2 separate regions of the Homo sapiens genome follow, and region 2 is linked to region 1. Evidence: promoter capture Hi-C in human tissues and cell types (Jung and others, 2019). All regions are on one chromosome and are shown on one strand. The core of a region is centred on a gene start or on the middle of the fragment in contact, and the rest is flanking DNA. Distances in the headings are between cores, read along the strand shown. Region 1 holds the start of IGFBP5 (insulin like growth factor binding protein 5). Region 2 has its middle 40 kb from the start of TESHL.

Region 1 (7,911 bases), core at 2,090-4,589:
CATCACTGTACCTTAGTTTGGGACCAGGACAACATGGCCGCAGCATTAGTATTCTTGATGTGTGTTGGCCTCTGGGAGAGACTGAAGTCAATGTCATGAGGTCTTTAAAAATTGAATAAATTATATAAATAAGCCTGTCTGAGAGTGGTGAGAGTGACACAGAAAAGAGAATGAAGACAAGATCCTTAGCTAACATTTTTCCATTCTAACCAGTAGAATCCACAATACTTTGTGTCCTACTAAAAAGTCTAGCTTTCCCAAACTGTGTTATCAGGCATCATCCTTGAAAATCACTTAGAAACTCACAGGAAATGACCACAGGCAAGGCATCCGAAGCTTTATAAAATAAAAACACTATCTATCCTTTGAAAAGTTATCCAGATAAAAGATCATAAATCTTTCACTCCGCTGCATTTCTTGAAAGCTGGCTTTGATAAGCAGTTAATCTTTTAAAGGAAAGAGGAGGAGTGATCTCCGGGGAAACGGGACACAAGTGGTTGATATTTAAATACTACTTCCCCGAAAAAGATGCAGTTGACAGGTATAGAAGCTAGTCTATGCCAGAGTTGGGAAGCCCATGACAGCGAAAGCAAGCCGGCAGCACAGGGGGGTCTCTAGGAAGGGAACATTTGTATCTGGCAGGAATTAATGATCCCCTCCCAATTACCCTGGTTGATGCAAACTATTTTTTTTTTCTACAAGCAATTTTCTAAAGGTGATTGTGAACAGATCTAGACCTCCAGAATGGAGGGAAGGGGAAAATGGAATCAAGTAAGGCTCATAGGCATCCTCCATAATCCCGTATCCTGCAGTAACAACACCAACACCTTCCCACTCCATTGTCATATGTTAATTATGGACTCAGAAACAACACCCATCTGGCCAGTCCTCCATCTTTGGATGAAATTACTATAGACAATCCCAGGCTACTGAGAATTCTTCTTTCTCTCATGCCCTCTCGGGAAGCCTATCCCAGGGTCTCTTGGACAACAGCTCCAGTGTCTGAATCCCTTATAACCTAAGCCCATTTCTAAGTGGAGATAAAGAATGGCTGCTTAGCACACCAACACAGCACATGTATACATATGTAACAAACCTGCACATTGTGCACATGTACCCTAGAACTTAAAGTATTAAAAAAAAAAAAAAAGAATAGCTGCTTAACATTTACAGTCTTGCAGAGTAACCTCTCTCCATGGCCCCTGTACTGCTCTGCCCCAGGGTCCGGCTCCCACCACATTCTCCTCCCCCCTTCTCTCTACCCTTTTTATCTTTTCTGTGAATGATCCCCCCTCCTTTTACCTGTCTTCACATATTGTATTATCCAGCCATTGGAAGTCGGCTACACAAAAAGAGGTGTCACTAGAGGCCATCTCTCTCAGAATACAGGGTGACTGGAACGAGGCAACTCATGTTTCTTTGGAAGGAGTACCACAATTTCCCCCAATCATCTTAAAAGCTACCAGTGTGCCTGAGGCAGGCTGAGCTGCTAAGGGTGTGCAGAAAGAAATAGGAGCAGGGAAGAGAACATACTGCACACATTCTGCTGCCACTCTTGTAGTCTGAACTTGACACAAATGACAAAATAACACATGATTTCCCTCACTTCTAAAATATTTCCACCAAAGTTTTGAATATTGATTTGTTCCTACCTTACCAAGCCCTCAGACTGAGAAAAGAAGAAATTAAGATGAGCCTTGCTGCTATTTTTTGTTTTAATCATTACACACAATGCTCCTCCCTCTCCCAGCCACCACGTGGCTAAACCCCCTTTGGCAATACAGGCAAAGACATAACTTTAGACGTTAACCTTGTTTTAAAATGTGCCTTTCGGCAAATAGATAAGTGAGAAGAGAGATCAGGATCTGGGGGTGTTAACGGCATAAAGTGAGATGCTCCTGAACTGAACGAGCAAGAAAAAATATTTTCTTGAAAGCAGTCCTCCAGAAAGAATTCTTATCATAGATAAGGGTGCAGTCTAGTGGCAAACTTCATGAAATGCAGCCCCTTCTCCAAAGGAAAGTTAGAATACTTCTCAAGGGAGGAAGCACAATGTAAAAGGTGTAACAGCCCACACCAAGTCCACCCAGCAGGGGCAGTGACATTGGTCATTTCTCTCTGACTTGCCTGTGAGGCTCATGGCTCACTCAGGTCAATTTCAGAAAAAGCTAAAACCACCACCTTCCTATTTCAAGGCCTTAGTTTTCTTTCATTTTATTAAAGAGGTTCTAGTGGCATGATTCGGTTCCTGGTCAGGACCTCTTCCAAGCAGGTCCTGTGGCCCTGTCAGCTCATATTCCTGGGATGTGCCTATAAGCACCAACTAACCTGTCAACCTATCACAAGGTCTCCTCCAGCTACTCTGCCACCCACTCCCTCCAGGGATGTGGCCCTGCCCAATAGAAATACCTCTGCAAAGTGACAGAGAGGGAAGTGTCACTCCAATCCACCTTTCTTCCCTCTAAGAACCCCACACACAAGGACACTTTAGGCCACCATGCAAGGTTTTCAGACTTAGCATTTCCTCCAAAGTGTCCATCTCTGCAACTCACTGCTCTCAATAATGCTGTTGTATGAATGTCCATTCCTGCAGATACACAACACACACACATACACACACACACACAGAGAGAGAGAAAGAGAGAGAGAACCTCCCTGGCCAACGCAGCTGAAGGCAACTGGTCACCTCTTCATCATGAGTACTGAAACCCCCTGATTAAATCCTCTTCTCCAGACTTTTAGGGGAGAAATTCAATTTTTTCTTCTTTTTTAAATTTAGCTCACCAGACATCACTGGCCATTCTACACTACCTGTCCCCCAAACACACACACACACACACCCCACATGGAAACAGACACCAGCATACAGTCAATTGCAGAAGCTTAGGAAGATTTCTTGGGCACGGTATATCCAGTTGGCTAATAAGAAAATACGTCTCCCTTCAGCCTGTGCCTTGACTACTTAAAGGATAGGAGGGAAGGGGAGACGAAGTTACTCTCCTCATTGTGTTCACCCTGCTCCGAAGAACTCTGTCTTCCACTGGCCCCTCCACCTCCTCCCCATTCTCGGTAGCCCCAGCCTGTCCCCCTTGCCCCTTTCTTACATTCCGGGGGGAGGAGGGCGCTGTTCAGAGGGGAGGAGGGCGCTGTTCAGGGAGCGAAGGGGAGCCCCCTTGTGTCTAGAAGGCCTCTCCCCACCCCCACCCCGTGTGAGTTTGTACTGCAAAGCTCCTTGGCATCCTTGCCTGAGTTGGGTGTTGGGAAGCTCAAATTGCAGCTACAAACTGGCTGGCAGCCAGGGGCCGGCTATTTAAAAGCGCCTGCTCTCCCGGAGCCCCGTAGTCTCTTTGGAAACTTCTGCAGGGGAAAAGAGCTAGGAAAGAGCTGCAAAGCAGTGTGGGCTTTTTCCCTTTTTTGCTCCTTTTCATTACCCCTCCTCCGTTTTCACCCTTCTCCGGACTTCGCGTAGAACCTGCGAATTTCGAAGAGGAGGTGGCAAAGTGGGAGAAAAGAGGTGTTAGGGTTTGGGGTTTTTTTGTTTTTGTTTTTGTTTTTTAATTTCTTGATTTCAACATTTTCTCCCACCCTCTCGGCTGCAGCCAACGCCTCTTACCTGTTCTGCGGCGCCGCGCACCGCTGGCAGCTGAGGGTTAGAAAGCGGGGTGTATTTTAGATTTTAAGCAAAAATTTTAAAGATAAATCCATTTTTCTCTCCCACCCCCAACGCCATCTCCACTGCATCCGATCTCATTATTTCGGTGGTTGCTTGGGGGTGAACAATTTTGTGGCTTTTTTTCCCCTATAATTCTGACCCGCTCAGGCTTGAGGGTTTCTCCGGCCTCCGCTCACTGCGTGCACCTGGCGCTGCCCTGCTTCCCCCAACCTGTTGCAAGGCTTTAATTCTTGCAACTGGGACCTGCTCGCAGGCACCCCAGCCCTCCACCTCTCTCTACATTTTTGCAAGTGTCTGGGGGAGGGCACCTGCTCTACCTGCCAGAAATTTTAAAACAAAAACAAAAACAAAAAAATCTCCGGGGGCCCTCTTGGCCCCTTTATCCCTGCACTCTCGCTCTCCTGCCCCACCCCGAGGTAAAGGGGGCGACTAAGAGAAGATGGTGTTGCTCACCGCGGTCCTCCTGCTGCTGGCCGCCTATGCGGGGCCGGCCCAGAGCCTGGGCTCCTTCGTGCACTGCGAGCCCTGCGACGAGAAAGCCCTCTCCATGTGCCCCCCCAGCCCCCTGGGCTGCGAGCTGGTCAAGGAGCCGGGCTGCGGCTGCTGCATGACCTGCGCCCTGGCCGAGGGGCAGTCGTGCGGCGTCTACACCGAGCGCTGCGCCCAGGGGCTGCGCTGCCTCCCCCGGCAGGACGAGGAGAAGCCGCTGCACGCCCTGCTGCACGGCCGCGGGGTTTGCCTCAACGAAAAGAGCTACCGCGAGCAAGTCAAGATCGGTGAGCGCGCTCAGTGTGCCAGTCAGTTACGCGGCGCACGGGCGGGGGACACGAGACCGGCTGGGCCCGCGCGCTTTGCGCAGCAAGTGGCTTCGAGCTGGGGTGCAGCTCGGGAGTAGTCGGGGAGGGTCCTTGCACCCCGGAATTGGAGCCCTGGAGGATCCTGCTACCCGGGGGAACTGTCTAGCCGAGTCTATCCCAGCTTTCGCTCTTTCTCCTTCCTCCTACCCACACGTTGCCCGCCCCCTCCCCCTACTCTGTCCGAATACTGATTCTGAGCTCTTATTCGGTCACAAGGTCCAAATCCCCTGGTACCCTATCTACAGTCTGAAAGAGTGTATGTTACATTATCAACTCCCTCCTCCACCCCCCTCGCGCCCCGCATAGGTTTTTTTCTGAACTTGGAAAAAAAATCTCTTTTGTTAAAATATTATTTTAATTGCGGCCTGGAGAGAGAGGCATTACCTATCTTCTGAGCTAATTCCACCTTTGTCCCTCTTGGCCCCTCCACCCCCGTGCCTCCAGACGTTTCTATCCCTCCACCCCTACACACACACCACAAACACCCCACATCCTTGGTAGCTAATGCCTTTCGGGTGGGAGCCCTGAAGCCCCTCCCATGTGCATAACCATTGCTTTTTATTGAAGATGATTGCCTGTGGTAGATGGTAAAACATATTTAACTGCAAAATGACTTTTATTTTATCCCAGGAAGGGAAAAAAATACTTTAGGAGTGCGGGGGTGCGGGGTGGGGGTGGGGAAGAGTAGAAAGGAAGGGTTTGGTATTCTGTGCCTGGTGTTCGTTTCTGAATCTAATTCCTTTTCCCCCTCTCCAATTCAGATTTTACCTAGGATGAAAGGTGGACATAGGGCTGGGAGGCAAAAGGGGATGTGAGATTCAGAGCTTTCAACTTCCTCGCCTATGCAGATTCCTGGCACCACCACCACCTCCACCCCCGCCCCGCAATTCCTCCCTCCGCAATCCCCCCACCCCGCCCTCCCCAATCTCTTAAACCAGATCACAAGTGGGTGTGGATTAAGTGCATGAGGGGCCCTGGAAACGCAGAATGCAAAATTCAGGGGGCGGAGACAGAAAAGCCACGCACTGGGAGCCTCGCCTCCGCTTGCCCCGCCCCCGGGTTGCGCCGCCCCCAAATTCTCGGCGCCAGGAGTCTAGGGTTGAAATGATTGACACAGCTACTTGTTCAATCAGAACAGTTCTACCCCCTTAGACTGAGTTTCTTTTTGGAAAGAGTTACCTGATCTTTAGTTAAAAAAAAAAAAAGTTAAATAAACTACATAAAAGTCTGGGTTCTAAGACGTCAAACTGGCTATTGATTCTCTCCAAAAGGGGTTAAAACTTGGCTAAACAATGTTTATTTGGCGTAGTTTAGTTACGGAGACAGTTTAGTTACGGGGGCAATCCCCTTCTCCCTCCCTGTCCCTTTCCGTTACTCACGAGCACCCTAACATGAGTTTTCTGAAGTGCAAATTTCAGTCACTATAGTGCAGGAGAGGAGTGCGTCCGCGCTTGCCAGGAGGCCGGAGAGCTTCCTGTGTTCAGCCTCAGTCCCCGCAAACCCTGCAGGGTTTGAGTGGCGCAGGGGCCAGCCCCTCTAGCTTTGCAAGAGGTAGTCGATCTCCAAACCTGCAAAAAGTCGATCTTTTTGCAGGTTGCAGCCTGCAAAAAGAGGAAAAGGGGAGGATGTGCAGGCTCTGGGAACCCCAGAGACCGGCTTGTGAGATTATTTTTATTAAGATCCACTTTTCAAAGGCGGTCCTGCCCGCCTTCATCTTGGGGGATGTGGATTTGGAAAAGCCTAGCGGAGAAGGAAAACATTAATTGATTTCCCGGCTTGGGAGCCACCGCCCTGGGTAACAATCCAGTCACACCGAAAGAACGTAAGGTGTCACTCAGCCGCATCCTGGCTCCACTTATTATTTACCAAGCGTGTAGTGTGATGTGGCTAGTGTGAAGGGTGTACACGCAGAGCGCACGCGCGCGCAATTGCTAGGCGAGCACGGAGGGCGCATCACACACACACACACACACACACACACACACACACACACACGACACTTCAGTCCCAAGCAAGATCCCCTGTAGAATTCCCTGCCGCCCCTTGCTCAACCCCCACCTTCTGAGTGCCTTTGGGCCAACCCGAAGCCGCCTCTTCTACCCGCCCCCTCCCCAGCACTCCTCTCCGACTCCACCCCGCCGAAGGCAGGTGCCCGGCCGGCTGCTGTTGCGGGTTGGCGGCGCTCCACCGCTGCTGGTGCCGACATCTTCTTCCCGAACAGATGGGATGGGAGTGGGCGCTCCTGGAAAGGGCGTTTTAGCCGGACAACCACTGGGCGGGTCCCCAAAAAGTTGGAGATGGTGTAGAGACCGTTCTTAAGGAGAGAGAAATGGACAGAGAGAGGGAGAGTGCCCTTTTGGTCCTTTAGCCAAAATTCCTGCTTCCCAACACACCTCCTACCTCCCTCCTCTCCCCCACCCCCGCCAAAATCTGAGCTTGCAGATATGGATTTGCCCCCTCCCTCCCGCAGTTGCAGCATACACACACACACACACACACACACACACACACACACACACACGACATATTATATCTATATAATTATATATTGTATATATGGTATATACTATATTATATATATTTATATGTAACCAAACATGTAGAACCCAAAAAAGGTGCATTTCTGGAATCAGAAATGGGGAGCAGAAGAGAGTGAGGTGGCAGGCAGCCAAAGCCTCTGGGAGGGAAAGGAGAGGGCGGAGGAGAGGGTGTTTTGCTAGGCTGTTGCTGAGCAACTGGAGAGGGAGTGGGCCCGAGAGCAGGGTGCTGAGAGCGAGCCTGGCTCTGCATTTCATTCTGGCCAGTTCAGGAGCAGAGATAGATACGGAAAAAAGAATGTGTGTGAGGCTGGAGGGAGATGAAAGACGGGAGTTATTTGATGGGCAAAGCTCAGTAAATAGCGGTGAGTGGAGGGAGTCAAGGAAGTACTGGGTTTGCTTTCGGGCATTTTTGGTGGGGAATGAGGTTTGATGGGCTGGTCCCCAGCATAGATACCGGGGTTCGGGTAGGTCTCCTCTGTGCTGGTGAGACATTCAGTTTAAGATGTAGGGAGCCGTGGGTTCTGGCTTTCGGTTCTGTCATTAAGAAATGAGACACCGTGGGACAAAAAATAGGCTTCTGGAAAAGAAAGCAAAAGCATTACCTAAATAAAAGTGAATTCAGCCTTTGCTTCTTTGAGGGGTTTGGCCTCCATCACCCTGGCTTCAACTCCAAGCCTGGTCTAAAATGCCATGTTGAAGTCGAGTTCCAGAGTTAGGTTTATTGGCCAAATTTATGTCTGGGTTGAGCAAGATCATGGAAAACTGAAGGAGCCAAATTCCTTTCCCACCCGCACCCCCTCCCTCTGAAACAAGTCTTTGAGAGGATGGCGTGCCCTGAGCC
Region 2 (7,911 bases), core at 3,629-6,128, 210 kb before region 1:
ACCACGGACTCCTAGGGATGAAAAGGTCAGATGCCTCCAGTGCCCTCTGGGGCAGCCCATAGTTGCTGGTGCTTTGTCATGCTGGGTGAGGACAAAGCCAGAAAAGTAACCATGGGCTCTCCCAGCTGGTGAATCTAGCCTCCAGTCATCCTCTCTCATTCAGCCAGGGCACAGACTTGGCTGCATGGATTATTCTGGCTCCTGAGCACAGAGTTGAGGTACCATGCATGAAGATGGCAGTTTAGATGCTGGAATGATTTCACACACTGAGAATGGGGGTGGGAAAGAGAAACCATCTGTGTGCAAGTGAGTGTTGATGTCCATAGAATCCCAGATGCAGAGAATGTTGCTTACTGAATACCTCAGTCCAGTTATTCCCGCTGCAGAGATGACATCTAGTCCTACATTGCTTTTTCCTCCGATACCAAGGTTACAACTTATGGATGGAATAATTCCTGTGTCAATCAACATACCTTTATTAAATACCTGGGACAGAGGGGGAGAGAGAGAGAGAGAGAGAGGAGGCACCAAAGACAGAAGCCTCAGTCTTTTTACAACCTAACCTTAGAGGTGATATTCTATTGCTTCTGCTGTATTTTCTCCACTAGAAGCAAGTCTAGTGTAAATAAGACTGACTTACTCTAAGTCCAGCTCATGCTCAACATGAAGGGGTTCCACAAGGGTGTGACTACTTGGAGGCAGGGATCACTGGGGGCCATCTCGGAGGCTGCCTTCCACATACAACCAGGGTGGAAGTCAGAAGATGTGCATTCAACCTGGCTCAGTCTTTGCCACTTTCTGGGCATAAGCCTCATGCCTCTGGGATTTCCATTCTATCAGCAAAGCAAATGAGTTAAGATTTTTTTTCTGTTGGTAAGAGCCATGACATAGTGCCCTTGGAGAGTAGGTGGCAGACCCCTCAGGTGGCTAAATGCCTTGAAAAGTCAACCATCCCTGCCTTTTTTACAGAAAACCTTCTTCCTGGGCCATACACATGAGCCTCTTATTGTCATAGCCCTCCCGGGGAGGACACCTCTTTCCTATTGGGAATGCTTTCTTGGCGTCTAAGCTTCCATTTGTTCCACCGAAGCTTTGCCCCCCCACCTTTTTTTTTTTTTTTTTTTTTGAGATGGAGTCTTGCTCCATCACACAGGCTGGAGTTCAGTGGCACGATCTCAGCTCACTGCAACCTCCGCCTCCTAGGTACAAGCGATTCTTCTGCCTGAGCCTCCTGAGTAGCTGGAACTGCAGGTGTGTGCCACCATACCCGGCTAATTTTGTATTTTTAGTAGAGACGGGGTTTCACCATGTTGGCCAGGATTGTCTCGAACTCCTGACCTCATGATCCGCCCACCTCCGCCTCCCAAAGTGCTGGGATTACAGGCGTGAGCCACCGCACCTGGCCACCTTGCCCCTTCTTATCCGTGCCTGTTCTCATTGGTGCCAGAGACACTTTTGCAGGTTTATCTCTCTAATAATCTTTACATAATTTAAACATGGAGCACCTGGCCCCCTGGGTGTCTGGATGACAGATGACTTCCCACCAATAAGCCAGATCACCAGTGTAGGCACTAATTCAGACAGGAGCAGATTGTGTTCAGCTGCCCTTTTCCACATGGCTTATTCTGGTATTGACTTGTTCTATGGCCCTTTCTTGACCAGGCACCATCAAGTCAGAAAAACACTGAAGAGACAGAGAAAACTACATGAATTAAGGAAAGAAAGGAAGAAGAAGAGGTTATCTGAAATTGAACTTACCAAGACTTAGCACTTGACTGGGAATCTCATTGTCTCTTCCCACAAGATATTTGTGAAGGTCATTATCTTTGTGGTCAGGAGGAAGAGACTTGAGCTTTGTGTCCACAGCCAGTTTGTCAAGATCAGGCCCATATCTGTTTCACGTTAAGCTGTGAACGATTCTTAAACTTTGTTTCACAGTACCTTAGAGTAGTTTTGAGTAAAGCAAATCCTTTCTTTAACCTAGGATTAAATCCTATTAGACTTCAATGAACAAGAGCCACCAGAATTGACTTTCTTTATCCTAGCCCATGGACAGTTACCTTCCCAATGTCTTGTGTGTACCACTGGTTCTCTTCAGGGAGCCAGACTATATTAAAACTGTGGATATCATCAGGAAAATATCACAGGTGAACCTCTAGGTCCCAAAGAGTGCTGGGACTCAGGACCCCATCCAGAGAGTGGATGAATTCTAGCCCTAGCCCTCCTCACCCAGGACCATGTGCTGGAGAAGAATGTGGTTCAGGCCATTGGAGGTAGGCCCGAGTGCTGCACAGGTAGGCTATCAGCCTCACCCTCCACTTCTCTCCTGGCCTCCCCTCTCAGAGCCTCCCAGGACTGGGAGGAGAAGGTGCCCCTCCAGGTGCTGATGCTGAGTTCTTTCTGGAGCATGTACAGCCTGACTAAAAAGGACCAGCTGTGTGAAATGGGAGGCAAAGCTCATAAATGACCTATGAATTTTACTCACTGCCATAAACACATCAGAATCATAAGAACTTGATAGTCCTTCACAACCTCCCCAGATGTCTCCCCCTTGGCATTGAGAAGAGAGCCTGAGAACCATGACCAGGGCCAATTTTGCCTGAGGCTCAGGCACATGCACCTCCTTCTAAGGGGATCTCCTGATGCCCATTAGTGACTCACTGATGAGAGCAGCAGCCCCAGAGTGACTGCAGAATTCTTCCTCCTCCTTCTGCATTGACCCAATGCCCAAACCCTGCCTGCCTGCTGAAGTGCACAGAATGGGTTTATGCATCATTCCTGAAGCCATGGCCCCTTTCAGTGATCAAAGGACTGTAAGTACCAAAAGTCCAATGTATTCACTACGATCACAAAGCACTCACCACTGTGGGCACCGTATTCTGCCTGTGATAAGAATCATCGCATTTAATCCTCAAAATAGCCCTATAAGGATGTTTGCAAATGAGCATGAGGGAGATTAAGAAAGAACGTTACCAAAGGTCCACGGCTAGAATGGTTGAGCTAGGATTTGGACCTGGGCAACCTGACTTAACTGCCACTCCATGAGGCCCCATGATATTTCACAGCTCTCAATAAATGTAGCTGGAGGTAGCTTTTGTCTGTTTGGAAAGACAAAACCATGATTTACACATCATGTTTTTAAGAACAAGCTCTCCCTAGGGAGATTGTGTTTTCCCAAGATCAGGCATCTAATTGGTCTGAGGGCCTAGGAGATGGGGGCCTCTTTGTCACCCCTCTTTTTGGGTAGCACTGCTAGAGAACAGCCTTATACTGAGAAGTCAGCAATCCTCCCCCACAGCCCATGCCCTACCTTCTGGGAGCCCCAGGTTTTACACACTAGGCAGGGTAACATGAAGGACAAAGGGTAAGGACTAGGAAATGGGAGTCCGGCCTCCCCATGTGTCCTTGGGCTCTCCTCAGACCCGGTGCTTAGAGATTGTGATTTGGGAACCAGAAGGAAGGGCAGGGACAGGCATCTGTCATCTTGGCTGTAAAGCTACTATCTCTCATGTTAGGCGTCTGGTACACACAACCTCTAAGGCACTATCCAGATGGGCCCAATCACCTCACTGCAGAAGCTAGATAACCACCACCAACATAGCAAGGGGCAGAATGATCCCTGAAATTAATTTGTGGATGCAGATTTTTGAGTTGTCAGGGGCCTTAGAATCACCCACTACAGCTCTGCCATTTTACAGATGAGGCAAATGAATTCTAGACAGTTGCTTTTGAATTCCTTTGTTAGGATAAATCCAGTCATGAGTAACTGAGTTCACATGTGTTCACTAGAGCTCCCACCACCTGCATCCAGGAACTCATCAGAACTTCTGTGAAGCTTTGAGCTGGCAGTCACAGGAACTCTTTGGCCCAGGAATATATATGTTCAAAGAAGCAGCATTCTAGAAAATGAGACAATCCTAAATAATGAGACCATATGATTTATTATCCAAACTGGCATGCTTTTCAGAGGGTTAGAGTAGGGCAAATCAAAAGAAACGGGGACGTACAGTCCCAAAACCATAAGAAATCTTAGAGTCCTTCTTGGTGGAGAAGGAAGCATTGTATAAGCATTGACTTAGGATGTAGAGGCCTGAGCTGGCTTATTCGTCAATAGATTCTTCCTGGACCCCAGAGCACCAATGGAGACAGCTAAGGGCCTGCACACTCACAGCCTAGATTTTGGTGGTTCAGCTCCTGTTACAATTAGATGTGTCTTTCACAAGCCATTGCCCCTCTCTGGGCCTCATTTTCATCTTCAGAAAATAAAAGCATTGAACCACATCACCTCTCAGGCCCCTCCCTTCAAGCTGTAGCGTCTGGGAATCTATAGGACCCCTGGCTGAGAGAGGGGGTCCCAGCACAGCAGCCTCCCACTTTGTCAGCCCAATGAACTAACAGCAGAACACATGGCTTGGCCCCTCAGGCTCCCCAGGCCCTGCCCTCACGCAGTCTGCCCCAGCTCCCCGCTACAACCTGTTGTTGCTCTTCCTGTTTGATGGATGGGAACATCCCTATGCTGGGGGACCCTGGGAAGGAACTGCAACACATGTGCACGGGCATTCACAAACACACATAAGAACTGGGATAAATATTAAAAGCCACAACATTCAAACAAGTGCAGAGGCCATGCCAAGAATCCTCTGGCACTGCCTCTGTGGAGCACCTGGTCATGTTTAACCCAAGCTGCAAATATGATTTCCAAGTGGGGACTCCCAGCAGGGATGGTGGGAGGCAGACTGGACGTCCTCAGCATGAGCCAGGCTAGTCTGAGTCACCCCATTCTCTCCTAAGGGACAGGTTCCACCCCTGCCAGGCAACATCTGACAAAGAGGGAGAGTGCAATCCCTCCAGGTCTTCACCATGTCCTCACTTTGGATGTGCTCTTTTACCTAAGTTCTGCCACCACCTCCCTGGGAGCCAGCAGATGGGGAAACAGAAGGGAGATGGCTGGTAGAGCCCACTGGCTTCCCTCGGAGCACCTCAGCCTAATAGAAGTTGTCATGTGTCAGCTCAGGACATGAGCAGAGCCCTCCCGGGCAGCAGCTGCTCCAGCAGCTTACAGCCAAAATGGTGCTGATGTGAGGGAGGCCCAGCTCCGAGGCCGGACAGAGGAAGGAGCACAAGACCCGTGGCACAAAAACAACCAAACAACAGGTGAAGGGGAAACGGACTGTGCATACAAAGTTGACCTCCTGCCTTTAGCTGGCTTGGACCTCAGTGTTAAGGATGCCACCTTTCAGATGTGGTGAGCAACAAAAGCAGGAAGGGCCAGATAATTTGGAACCAACTGCTAAGCTTTGTTCAACTTTTCCTGAAAATCCCAGATCTTCAAGTTACAGATCCAGAGGGATCATGGTATCTGACGCTCTCATTCTGCAGATGAGCACCCACACTTATGTAGGTTCCAAGGACCCATCCCGTGTGGTTCAGCTAGCAGAGCCTGAGTCATCCAGCCCAGCATTTTGCTTTGTACTTACTCCTTACCAATAAGAATATAAACATCATAATGGGATCAACTATGGATTTATTCATTTACTCTCTATTCAAAGTATCATAATTCTTTGGTTTTGAATTTTTACAGATCTCAAAATATCACATTTTTGCAAGTAACTGTACTAAATTTTGTAAAGTGGGCTATTCCAATAACAATCTTTAATAGCTAAAGAAAGTTTAGAAGTCCGTTTAAAAACTTAAATTTTAAGGAAACTATAGCATTTTATCAAATGCTGAATTTTCTTTATAACTAGCCAAGACATACTAATTGTTTCTGACCCTCCAGTTCCCCTTAATGAAGCATTTGAATTTAGAGAACATGGGTCTATCTGTGTTTTACATATTCCTCATCCAAGATGTCTTGTGTTCCAGTGAGCTCTTCTGTTGAGAATAATCAGAAAAGGTGGTAAGTCTTTGCAAGAAATAGGTAAAAGAGGTAAAATCGTTAAGAAAAAGTTGAAAGTTTTGCAAAGAAGTCATGAAAGAGAGAAGAGCACCAGTAATCACTATTACAGGAGGAAGGGAATTGATGGGTGCGGGGGTACTGGCTAAGACTTCCAGAGGGCTAAGCCTTTGAAATCACATGTGTTGAGGAGGCTTGAGAAAGGCCCATGCAGTTCTCCAAGCAAGTTCAATAAAAGTTAACCGAAGCATTCAAACATTCCAACTGACCAGGGCCCACTGTGTTTCCACAGACTGCCTTAGCATCCCAGTTGTAAAATCACATTGGCCATTGTGTGGCGAGCAGATGCAGAAAACATGCCTTTTAACTCGCTCATTATAGGAAGCAAAGCAAAATGACCATCTAGCCTGTCATTAAAACAGCAGGGGAGTGAAAGCTTGAAAAGTTCTAGCAAACGGGGAAATAAATGGAAATTGAATGGATAATAGTGGATATACCGTACCAAGAAGATGTGTATCATGTCTTTTAAAAAGGCAGAGCACTAAGTAAGGGTGCCATATTTTTAGTGAATATATTTATTCATTATCTAGTCCCATATAAATTTTCATGTTCCCTCAGAATCCCCCTTTTTTTTGAATTTTTAAGTTTGTTAATAGTAAACTGGTAAATTTTCTTACTCCGTATGTGTTTTTTTTGTTGTTGTTGTTTTTTAAGGAAACTTGCCTTCCTCTTAAGGGAAACAAACACACATACACACACACACAATTAGGACAAATCAGGAGTATGACTGATCAGTAACAAACCTGGATAATTAGGGAATGACAAAGCCTTCATGTGGGGGTTCACATATGCCCACAGTGCAAAGGGAGATGTCTGGGTGACATGGTGACCAGGCAGCTGGTCTAAGGGCTGGTAATTGTTTTAACTAGCTCTCTGGTTTGAAAGACAGCACACTGGAGATACAGACCTGAAACTGATTCTCCTTTCTACACCTCCTTAGCTTTGGAACTTTGGATGAGCTATTTACATTCTGTGAGCTTTCATTCCTTCACTTATAAAGCTAAGAAAATAATGCCTACTTCACAGCACTGTGGTGAGGATTACATGAAGTGATGTTTATAGAAAGCAGCTTGTGTGCTATAAATTGCTTTGCAATTTATAATTGCAATGGCTAAAACTCCAAATCTATGTCAGTTTGGAATCTGAAAAGTGATTAAAAAAAAACAACTTTCTATTAGAAAACAAGAGGACATGTGCAGTGGCTCATGCCTATAATCCCAATACTTTGTGAGGCCAAGGTGAGAGGATAGCTTGAGGCCAGGAATTTGAGACCAGCCTGGGCAACACAGTAAGACCCCGTCTCTACAAAAAAAAAAAAAAAAAAAAAAAAAAAAAAAAAAAAATTAACTAGTTGGATGTAGTGGCATGCACCTGTAGTCCCGGGTACTCAGGAGGCTGAGGCGGGAGAGTAGCTTGGGCCCAGGAGTTAGAGGCTATGGCAATCTACGATCACGCCACTGTGCTCCTGCCTGGGTGACAGAGGGAGACTCTTTCTCAAAACAAAATAAAAGAACACAAGAGAATTCAAATTGGACATCAGAAAGCCCAATCTACCCCCATGAGGCCTGCTGAAAACTAGAAACAAGTTGATAGAAGTTAATCAAGATTCCTTCTGAGGAGAGTTTTCTTTGCACGAGGTTGTTCCACTTCTAAGGAGGGTAAAGAATGCTATTTCTTCCTTTTTTTTTTTTTTTGCTTTGTTCTTTGCATTTTAAAAATTTGTATAAATTCAAGGGGTCCAAGGGCCATTCTGTTACATGGATATATTGCATAGTGGTGAAGCCTGAGGTTTTAGTGTACTCAGTGCCTGAATAATGTGCGTTGTACCCATGAAGTAATTTCACATCCCTAAGCCCCCCACCTTCCCACCCTTTTGAGTTTCCAATGTCTGTCATTCTGTACTCTATGTCCACGTGTACACATTATTTAGCTTCCACTTATAAGTGGGAACATGC

Evidence for each region. The method cuts DNA at HindIII sites, captures the fragments that hold promoters and counts their contacts. A contact is called where the count stands out against the background at its distance.
Region 2: a contact is called between a fragment that was not itself captured here and the fragment with the promoter of IGFBP5 in region 1, in 3 of the 25 tissues and cell types used here (aorta, bladder and pancreas).

What each region holds. Positions count from the first base shown.
Region 1 is chr2:216,690,977-216,698,887 of GRCh38, reverse strand. IGFBP5 (insulin like growth factor binding protein 5) reads left to right here and starts at 3,339. Exons shown (of 4, transcript NM_000599.4): 1 at 3,339-4,449. The coding sequence starts at 4,113. IGFBP-AS1 (IGFBP5 antisense RNA 1) reads right to left here and starts at 4,442. Exons shown (of 6, transcript NR_187138.1): 1 at 4,127-4,442. LOC124900515 (a long non-coding RNA gene) reads left to right here and starts at 7,324. Exons shown (of 2, transcript XR_007088080.1): 1 at 7,324-7,432. The HindIII fragment of the contact is 12,405 bases long and covers 1,610-7,911 here.
Region 2 is chr2:216,906,814-216,914,724 of GRCh38, reverse strand. No RefSeq gene overlaps it. Among named protein-coding and RNA genes, the nearest start is that of TESHL, 40 kb to the right of the region's middle. RefSeq lists a silencer at 4,945-5,239. The HindIII fragment of the contact is 4,829 bases long and covers 2,464-7,292 here.